Regions from separate parts of the Homo sapiens genome. Here region 2 is linked to region 1. Evidence: promoter capture Hi-C in human tissues and cell types (Jung and others, 2019). All regions are on one chromosome and are shown on one strand. The core of a region is centred on a gene start or on the middle of the fragment in contact, and the rest is flanking DNA. Distances in the headings are between cores, read along the strand shown.

Evidence for each region. Contacts are between HindIII fragments. The study calls those that stand out against the background at their distance.
Region 2: a fragment that was not itself captured here is called in contact with the fragment with the promoter of FOXC1 in region 1 in 2 of the 25 tissues and cell types used here (IMR-90 fibroblasts and aorta).

What each region holds. Positions count from the first base shown.
Region 1 is chr6:1,607,883-1,611,663 of GRCh38, reverse strand. It overlaps FOXC1 (forkhead box C1), which reads right to left and starts at 1,749. Exons shown (of 1, transcript NM_001453.3): 1 at 1-1,749. The coding sequence starts at 1,218. RefSeq lists enhancers at 892-991, 3,705-3,781 and a silencer at 1,322-1,941. The HindIII fragment of the contact is 11,200 bases long and covers 1-3,781 here.
Region 2 is chr6:1,934,565-1,938,345 of GRCh38, reverse strand. The region is part of intron 6 of GMDS (GDP-mannose 4,6-dehydratase); the gene reads left to right. Among named protein-coding and RNA genes, the nearest start is that of GMDS, 310 kb to the left of the region's middle. The HindIII fragment of the contact is 4,189 bases long and covers 1-3,726 here.

The sequences.
Region 1 (3,781 bases), core at 500-2,999:
GCCGGCCGCGTACAGGCTCATGGCTTGCAGGTTGCAGTGGTAGGTCCCGGCGCCGCCCGCGCCCCCCGCGGCCCCCGCGCCGCCGCCGCCGCCGCCCGAGCTGCCCGCGCTGGAGGTCTGGCTGCAGGGGGAGCTGTAGAGGGAGCTCTGGCCGGGCGAGTAGGCGCCGAGCGCCAGCGGGGGTGCGATCCCCGCGCGCGAGGACGCGGCCGCCGAGGCCAGAAGGCCGGAGCTGAGCTCCGCGGCCGCGCTCTGCGGCGACCCCCGCAGCGACGTCATGATGTTGTCCACGCTGAAGCCCTGGCTATGGTGCGGCGGCGGGGCGGAGGGCGCGGGCGGCGGCGGCGCGGAATCCGCACCGTCCAGGCTGAGCGGCCGCGCCGACGGCAGGCTGCCCGGGGGGCTGCTCCCGCTGGACAGGCTGCTGCTGCTGCTGTCGGGGCTCTCGATCTTGGGCACCGCGGCGGCGCTGCCGCTGCCCAGGGCGGCGGCCGGGGACAGGGGCTGGGGCGGCGAGGGGCACGTACCGTTCTCGGTCTTGATGTCCTGGATGCGCACGGGCGGCGGCTGCGGACCGGGCGCGTTGCCGTCGGCCTGCTCCGGCGGCGCGGGCGGGGGCTGGCGGCCGGGCGGGGGCGGCTCCTTGAGGTGCAGCCTGTCCTTCTCCTCCTTGTCCTTCACCGCGTCCTTCTTCTTGAAGCGCCGCCGCCGCCGCAGGAAGCTGCCGTTCTCGAACATGTTGTAGGAGTCCGGGTCCAGCGTCCAGTAGCTGCCCTTGCCCGGCTTCTTGTCGTCGCGCGGCACCTTGACGAAGCACTCGTTGAGCGAGAGGTTGTGGCGGATGCTGTTCTGCCAGCCCTGCTTGTTGTCCCGGTAGAAGGGGAAGCGGTCCATGATGAACTGGTAGATGCCGTTCAGGGTGATCTTCTTGTCCGGGGCGTTCTGGATGGCCATGGTGATGAGCGCGATGTAGCTATAGGGCGGCTTCACCATGTCCTTGGGCTGCGGCTGCGGCGTGTAGGGCCCGTAGGCGCGGGCCATGCCGCCCGGGTACTGCTCGGCGTGCGCAGGGTGCGAGTACACGCTCATGGGGGCCGGCATGGCGGTGTAGCCGCCCCCGGCCGCCGCGGCCGCCGCGCGGTAGTAGCTCTGCTCGCCGCCGAGGTAGGGCACCACTCCCAGGGAGTTGGGGCTGGACACGGAGTAGCGCGCCTGCATGGCCCCCGCTCGCCGCCGCCCCGCGCCGCCCGCCGCCCCCCACCCTCGCTCGGGCCGGGCCGCGCCGCGCCGGCCGCCGAGTCCGAGTCCGGGCCCGGCCGAGCTGGTGCCGGCCCGCTGCGCTGTGCGTCCGGCTGCGCTGCCGCCTCTCCCGGCGCTCGCTGGGGCTGGCTCCTCCGGCGCCTCGGGCTACCTCGGGGCCCGCGCGGCCGCGAGGCGGGGTCGCTGCGAGGGGAGAAGGCCGGGCCCGGCCGCGGCAGACCGCCTTGCAGGAACTCGCGGCGCAGCTTCCAGGCGCAAACGGGGGAAAGCAGACAAAAAGAAAGAACAAGCAGGCGCCCTTCTCGCCACACTGCCTGCGCCTTCCAGGAGACTCTGCCCTGAGCTGCCGGCGAAGGCGGCCAAATAACCAGGGCGGGGGGGGGGGGGGCCGCGCGCCGGCCGCCTGCCCGGGCCCCGCGTCACCTTTTCTCGGTCTCTCGCGCGCCAGCCGCTTAAGGAAGCATTGGGAAAACTTCTGAACTTTTGAGCATCCGTCACCCAGGCGAGGACTTTTTTACGCAGTTACACTTTTTTCCGGGCAGCGGAGCCCCGCCCCGCCAGCGGCGGCAGCCAATGGGAGGTGAGAACCGCCTCCGAATGAGCCGGAGGCCGAGCCCTGCCGGCCCGCTCCCGGAGGCCGGAGGACCGCGGGGCTGACCACACGCGCGCCGGCCGCCCTGGCCCGGGCCCCGGCCCTGCGCCCGCGCCGGCGCCCGGCCCGCCGTCGGTTCGCCCCCCGCAGTCCACCTGCCTGCCGCCGGCGCCCGGCAGACCTCCCACCCCGGGCCCTCCGGACCCACGCCCGCCGTTCGCGCAGACTTCCTGGGTCCTCCCGGGACCCCGTGCAGACCCTTCCTTCGCCCACGGCTCCCGAGTGGCCCTGGCGTCTCCGCCCCGCCTCGTGCTGGCTCGCTCTCATTCCTTCGCCAGCCCCGCCGACGCCAGCGCTGGGGTTGCCCCAGCCTCTCCTCCCCGCCGCCTCTCCCCTCCCGCAGCCCCTTCCCTCCCTTCTCCAACGCCAGTCTCACTCGGGTCACTGACGTCTCCGGCTTTTCTCCACTTGGAGGTTCTCCTGTCCTGAACTCGGCTACAAAGGACATGATTTTGAGGGCTCGGTCACAGCCAGGCCCTGCTCGCGGTGGGGAAGAAGGTTCGTCGCCCATCTGGCCCCCCTCCATGACCCCTCCCCAGCCGAAATGAAGGCAAGGGGTGCGGGGCCCTGCTGGGAGTTTCCGACGGCCGTTCACCCGCGAAGGATGAGCCCGCCCCGCTGCGGGCCGCCCTGCTTCTCGCCCCCCTCCCCGGGGGGCCGGCCCTTGGCGGCCTGAGGGTGCGGGCGGCGAGGGCTGCCGGAGCCCGGCTGCTGCCCCGCGCTCCCCTGCCCGCCCGCGAGGGTCCCACCGGCTCGCCGCGCCGCCGCCCCCTCTGATCCCGTCAGGCCCGTTTCGGCTCAGATGAGGGGTCAGGCTGCGGGCTCGGTGACATTAGCAGGTGTGATGACAAGAAGCAAATAAATATGTCTAAGAGCTTAACGCTTCCCCAGGCCAGTCTCCATCTCCACATGCGCGGGGCTGCCGGCTCGCAGAGACAACGGGTGTGTCTGGGGGAACGTCCAGGGTCGCACCTAGAGGGCGGTTCAAGGATTCTGGGGGGACACGCACGGAAGGGCCCCCGCTCGTTGTGCACACGCCTGAGATTCGCCGTCGCTGGGTGGTTGGAATGGGACAGGAAGAAGAGAAATGAGGGAAAGAAACGAAGGAGCGGGAAAGAGCCAGGCCTCCCTCCCCCGGCACGGCGATTCTGCATTTTAGCGACTTGAGGAGAGACCCTCCCGGAGGCTGAATCCCAAGTCGTTCACTAGAAGCTGGGGGAAGTGGCGAGCTCAGGAGACTGCGAAGAAGCGTGCGTGACGCATTTAACAGCTCCGCTGCCCCTGATTTCCGACCATCTATTAAATCCAAGGACATGTTCGGGACCCCTTTTGTCTCCCCGGTTCGAATCCCGGCTTCCTCACGTTGGCAGGAAAATTCAAATTGCAGCTTCGGCTGTTACATGTGAAGGACGCTGACGTGTAGCAGGCGCATCTCCGTGTCACCTGAATATTTAAAAATTACTGTTTCATAATGGACATTGACATCGAAGGAAAGAGGACCTGCCTCTTCTAGAATTAGCCTTTGGAGGAGGGAGGGTTGCCCCGAGGTTGCTCTGAATCCCGGGGCAGCTGCCTCCTGGCCTGCTGTGCGCCGGGGTCTCTGGAGACTCCTTTTCCAGGTGGTTTGCGGGCCAAGTCACTGGTGGGTTGGAGAAGCACCAACAGGAGGCTCAGCACTTGCTGGTTGCCAAGGACACTAGACAGGGGCGAGGGTGGTGGTGAAGCCCCAGGACCTGAACACTTAATTCCTGTTCAGCCCCCAGCCCGGCACCCTGAAGGTCTTATCAGCCCGCCTGGTCGAGGCTTTAAGGAGTGCTGTGGCTTCAGCCTGGAGGAGATTTAAGTGGTCTCCCTGAACACCTCAGCAAG
Region 2 (3,781 bases), core at 383-2,882, 330 kb before region 1:
ACAAGAAAGATGCAAGAAAGAATGATGACAAAGGAAATTGGTAGACACAGGAATTCACACAGAATTTTCAGTCTGAAATTATAAGAAGATGTATATTCCCCTGAAGAAGGAGACCCAGGGAGCTATTTAAATTAACTGAGGAAAACTTGCAGAGCTGAAACAGAGGGGAAACTTACTTTATCACCTCTAAATTAATCTTCTACAAATGGAGACCCTATTTGGCTATTATGCTCACGAAAGGAATGTAGTTACCCTTAAAATGATGTTTAAGTGAGGAAACAATGCCCCTCTCATGTTTTATCATGTATTTCAAGTATCCCCCTTTTTTTTTCTTTTAAATTAGTAGAGAAGGGGTCTTGCTATGTTGCCCAGGCTGATCTCAAACTCCTCGTCTGAAGTGATCCTCCCACCTCCCAATGTGCTGGGATTATAGGCATGAGCCACCGCACCTAGCCTCAAATATTCTAAACCTTCGTTCTTATAGTGGGTTGGGTGGTAGCCCCCAGAAAGATATGTCCACATCCTAATATCTGAACCTGTTGATGTGACCTTATTTGGAAATGAGGTCTTTGCAGTTATAATTAGTTAAGGATCTTGAGATGAAGGGATCATCCTGGATTACCAAGGTGGGCCCTAAATCTAATGACAAGTGTCCACATAATAAAAAGAAGAGCCAGAGACATAGACACACATTGGAGAAAGCACTATTCATATGGTGTGAATATGGGGGCAGAGATTGGACCACAAGCCAAGGAATGCCATCACATGCTGAGACAGCATCAGGGTTCTCCTGTAGATATTCTCGAAGGAGCATGGCCCTGTTGGATATTAACCTTCAAGCCTCCAGAGCTGTGAGACAGGAAATTTTGGTTGTTCGAAGCCACCCAGTGTGTGGGAGTTTGTTATGGCAGCCCTAGGAACTAATATAGTCCTTAACAGTTAATTTATACTTGTTTTTCAAAAACAGCAAATTAAAATTTAAAAGAAAGTTCAGTGTCTGCTATTAATGTAACAGAATGTTGAAGCTTTTTTCTAGGCGTGCTTTCTTTTCTTGTTTCTGTTCAGGATGGCATCTACCTACAGTCATGCGTCACGGAACCACAGGGATTTGTTCTGAGAAATGCATCATTAGGCAGTGTCATTGTGTGACGGTTGTAGACGTAGAGTGTTCCACAAGCCTGGATGGTATATCTTCCTGCACACCTATCGCTGCTAGGCTACAAACTGGGACAGCAGATTACTGAACACTGTAGGCAGTTGCAACACAATGTGTATTGGTGTATCTAAACATAGAAAAGGTAAAGTAAAAATACCATATAAAGGACAAAAGATATGCCTGTATTGGGCAGCTCTATTGTAATTTTTTTTTTTTTTTTTTTGAGACAGAGTCTCACTCTGTCATTCAGGCTGGATTGCAGTGGGGTGATCTCAGCTCACTGCAACCTCCACCTCCCAGGTTCAAATGATTTTCGTGCCTCAGCCTCCTGAGTAGCTAGGATTATATGCTCGCACCACCACACCTGGCTAATTTTTGTATTTTTAGTAGAGATGAGGTTTTACCACGTTGGCCAGGCTGGTCTCAAACTCCTGACCTCAGTTGATCTGCCCACCTCAGCCTCCCAAAGTGTTGGGATTACAGGCGTGAGCCACTGTGCCTGGCCTCTATTGTAATCTTACGGGACCATTGTCATATAAGCGGTCCATGCTTGACCTAAACGTTGTGGTGTGGCGTGTGGTGCTATATGGGACGTAGATGTGGCTTATTTGACCTAGTGTTGGAAAAGGGGCAGGTGGTGTCTTCAGGTGTTTGTGGTACATTCTGAATGCCTCCTGGTCTCAGCTGATGACTTGCTGGTCTGAGCTATTATTCCCTTGCCTTGTGGCCACAGAGGAGGTGGGATTAGTCCCACTTCTGGCTGTGCCTGGTGTCTGCTGCTGGTAAAATTCACAGGCTTCACTTTCCCTAGGTTCATGGAAGGAGTGAGCTTTACTCTTAAGTAGTCTTAGCCTTCAAGTCTCAATGCACCATTTCAGCGACTGCCTTAGGGTCCATGCAGGCCTGCTGGCCCTCTTGCCACTGCTCACATTGAGCCTTGCTTCACTGCTTCCTGTAGCATGATATTTTATTCTTAGTGTGGATTGTGATCCCATTTTATTGGTAAGAGAACTGAGAAATTAAAACACTTGCTTAAGATAATAGCACTGACAAAAGTAGCAAGCAGAATTATGCATAACTAACATAGTGTGTTAGACACGGTTCTAGTAATCTACCCTGAAAATTTTGTCCTTTGTCACAGATAGATATTAAAGCTGAACCTGTTTCCAGGGCATGAGATGGCCTTCCATTTTCACTTCCAGCCCAGACTCCTCAGTGCCCACCCATGATCTGTGCTCTGGAGATCCCCCTTCACCTGGGGATTTTCTTTCATTTCTTTGAGGCTCAGCTTTGTATTTAACAAAATAGGAATAGTAATATTTTACCCAGCATATACTGGTTTTTAATGTGGCAGTTTTTGTTGTCTACTGCATTGCGTGAACAGAAGTTCTGTTCTCATTCTATCAATGCTGGCAAAACTCATTATCTCAATCCAACGAGTGTTTAGGCTAAAAACCTTATTAGTTGTTCTCGGTCTTATGGATATACTTTTACTTGCATACTCTCTTTCCTAGGTTAATGAGTTAATATTGAAAGCCAAAGTCATTCAAGAAATGTTTATTATTGCTTCCTGTGTAGGCCCACATGCCTGGCTGTTTATTTTGATTTTTCCTCAATCTCAGACTTTCAAAATCAGAGAATTAAGAGATGTAGTCATCTATTAATAAAAGAACTAAGAAATCTTAACTTTCCATTGAGACTTAATTGTAGATACCATTAACATTGTAATGTAATCATTATAATAATGTCTAACAGTTACTGAGTACTTACTGATAACCAGAAAACCTAGATTTTCTCCTTTAAACATCAAAGCTTTTAGGTACTATTACTATCCTTATTTTACAAACAAGGACATAGTGATGTTCTTACATTTCTGTAAGAAATGCCATTTAACCTACATTAGTGTACCCAGTGATTTGGCATGGCAAATGTTAATATGCAAGTAGTACACAGAGGAGACTATGACTTCAGAGTGGTTAAATGGTTTGTGTAAGATATCACAGCTGGTTACTAACAGAGCTGGCTTTCCCTCCATTCATTGAGCTAACTTTTCTTAGTCCTCTTTCTAACGAGAATCTTATAGTTTAAGGCTTTATAAATCAAGTATGTATTTAAGTTAATTATAGGGGTTCCATTATCCACATGTGCTATAATAATTCACAAACACTTAGGTCATCTCATCGCAGAAGAGATTCCTCCTGCATTGCACTGTGGCTTAGCAAAACAGCACAAGGCTAGAAAGCCAGTGAGACAGGCCTGGGTCCGGCTCGGCTACTTGTCCTGACTCAGGACAGGTGTGCAGCCTCTGTGCGTTTCTCTTTCTTCACCTCTCACTTGGGATAGTCTCAGCCCTCATGTTCTATGCTTTTATATAGTTTCTTCCTTAAAAGAGCATTCTTCTGTAACATGGAGTAAAAATGAGGAGAGCAAATTTAAAAAAAAAATCATTTTAAGCCTTTCTTGAGAATTAAGTAGTAAAACATGTGGTTACAAAAATGTTTAAAATTAATCCAAAACTTTTTCTTGAAATCAAGAAAACAATTGTATTTATAATAAAATAAAAAAGAATAAAGTGTTTAGGAACAAATTTAGCAGAAGTGTAAAAATTATTCTCTGAAAACTATT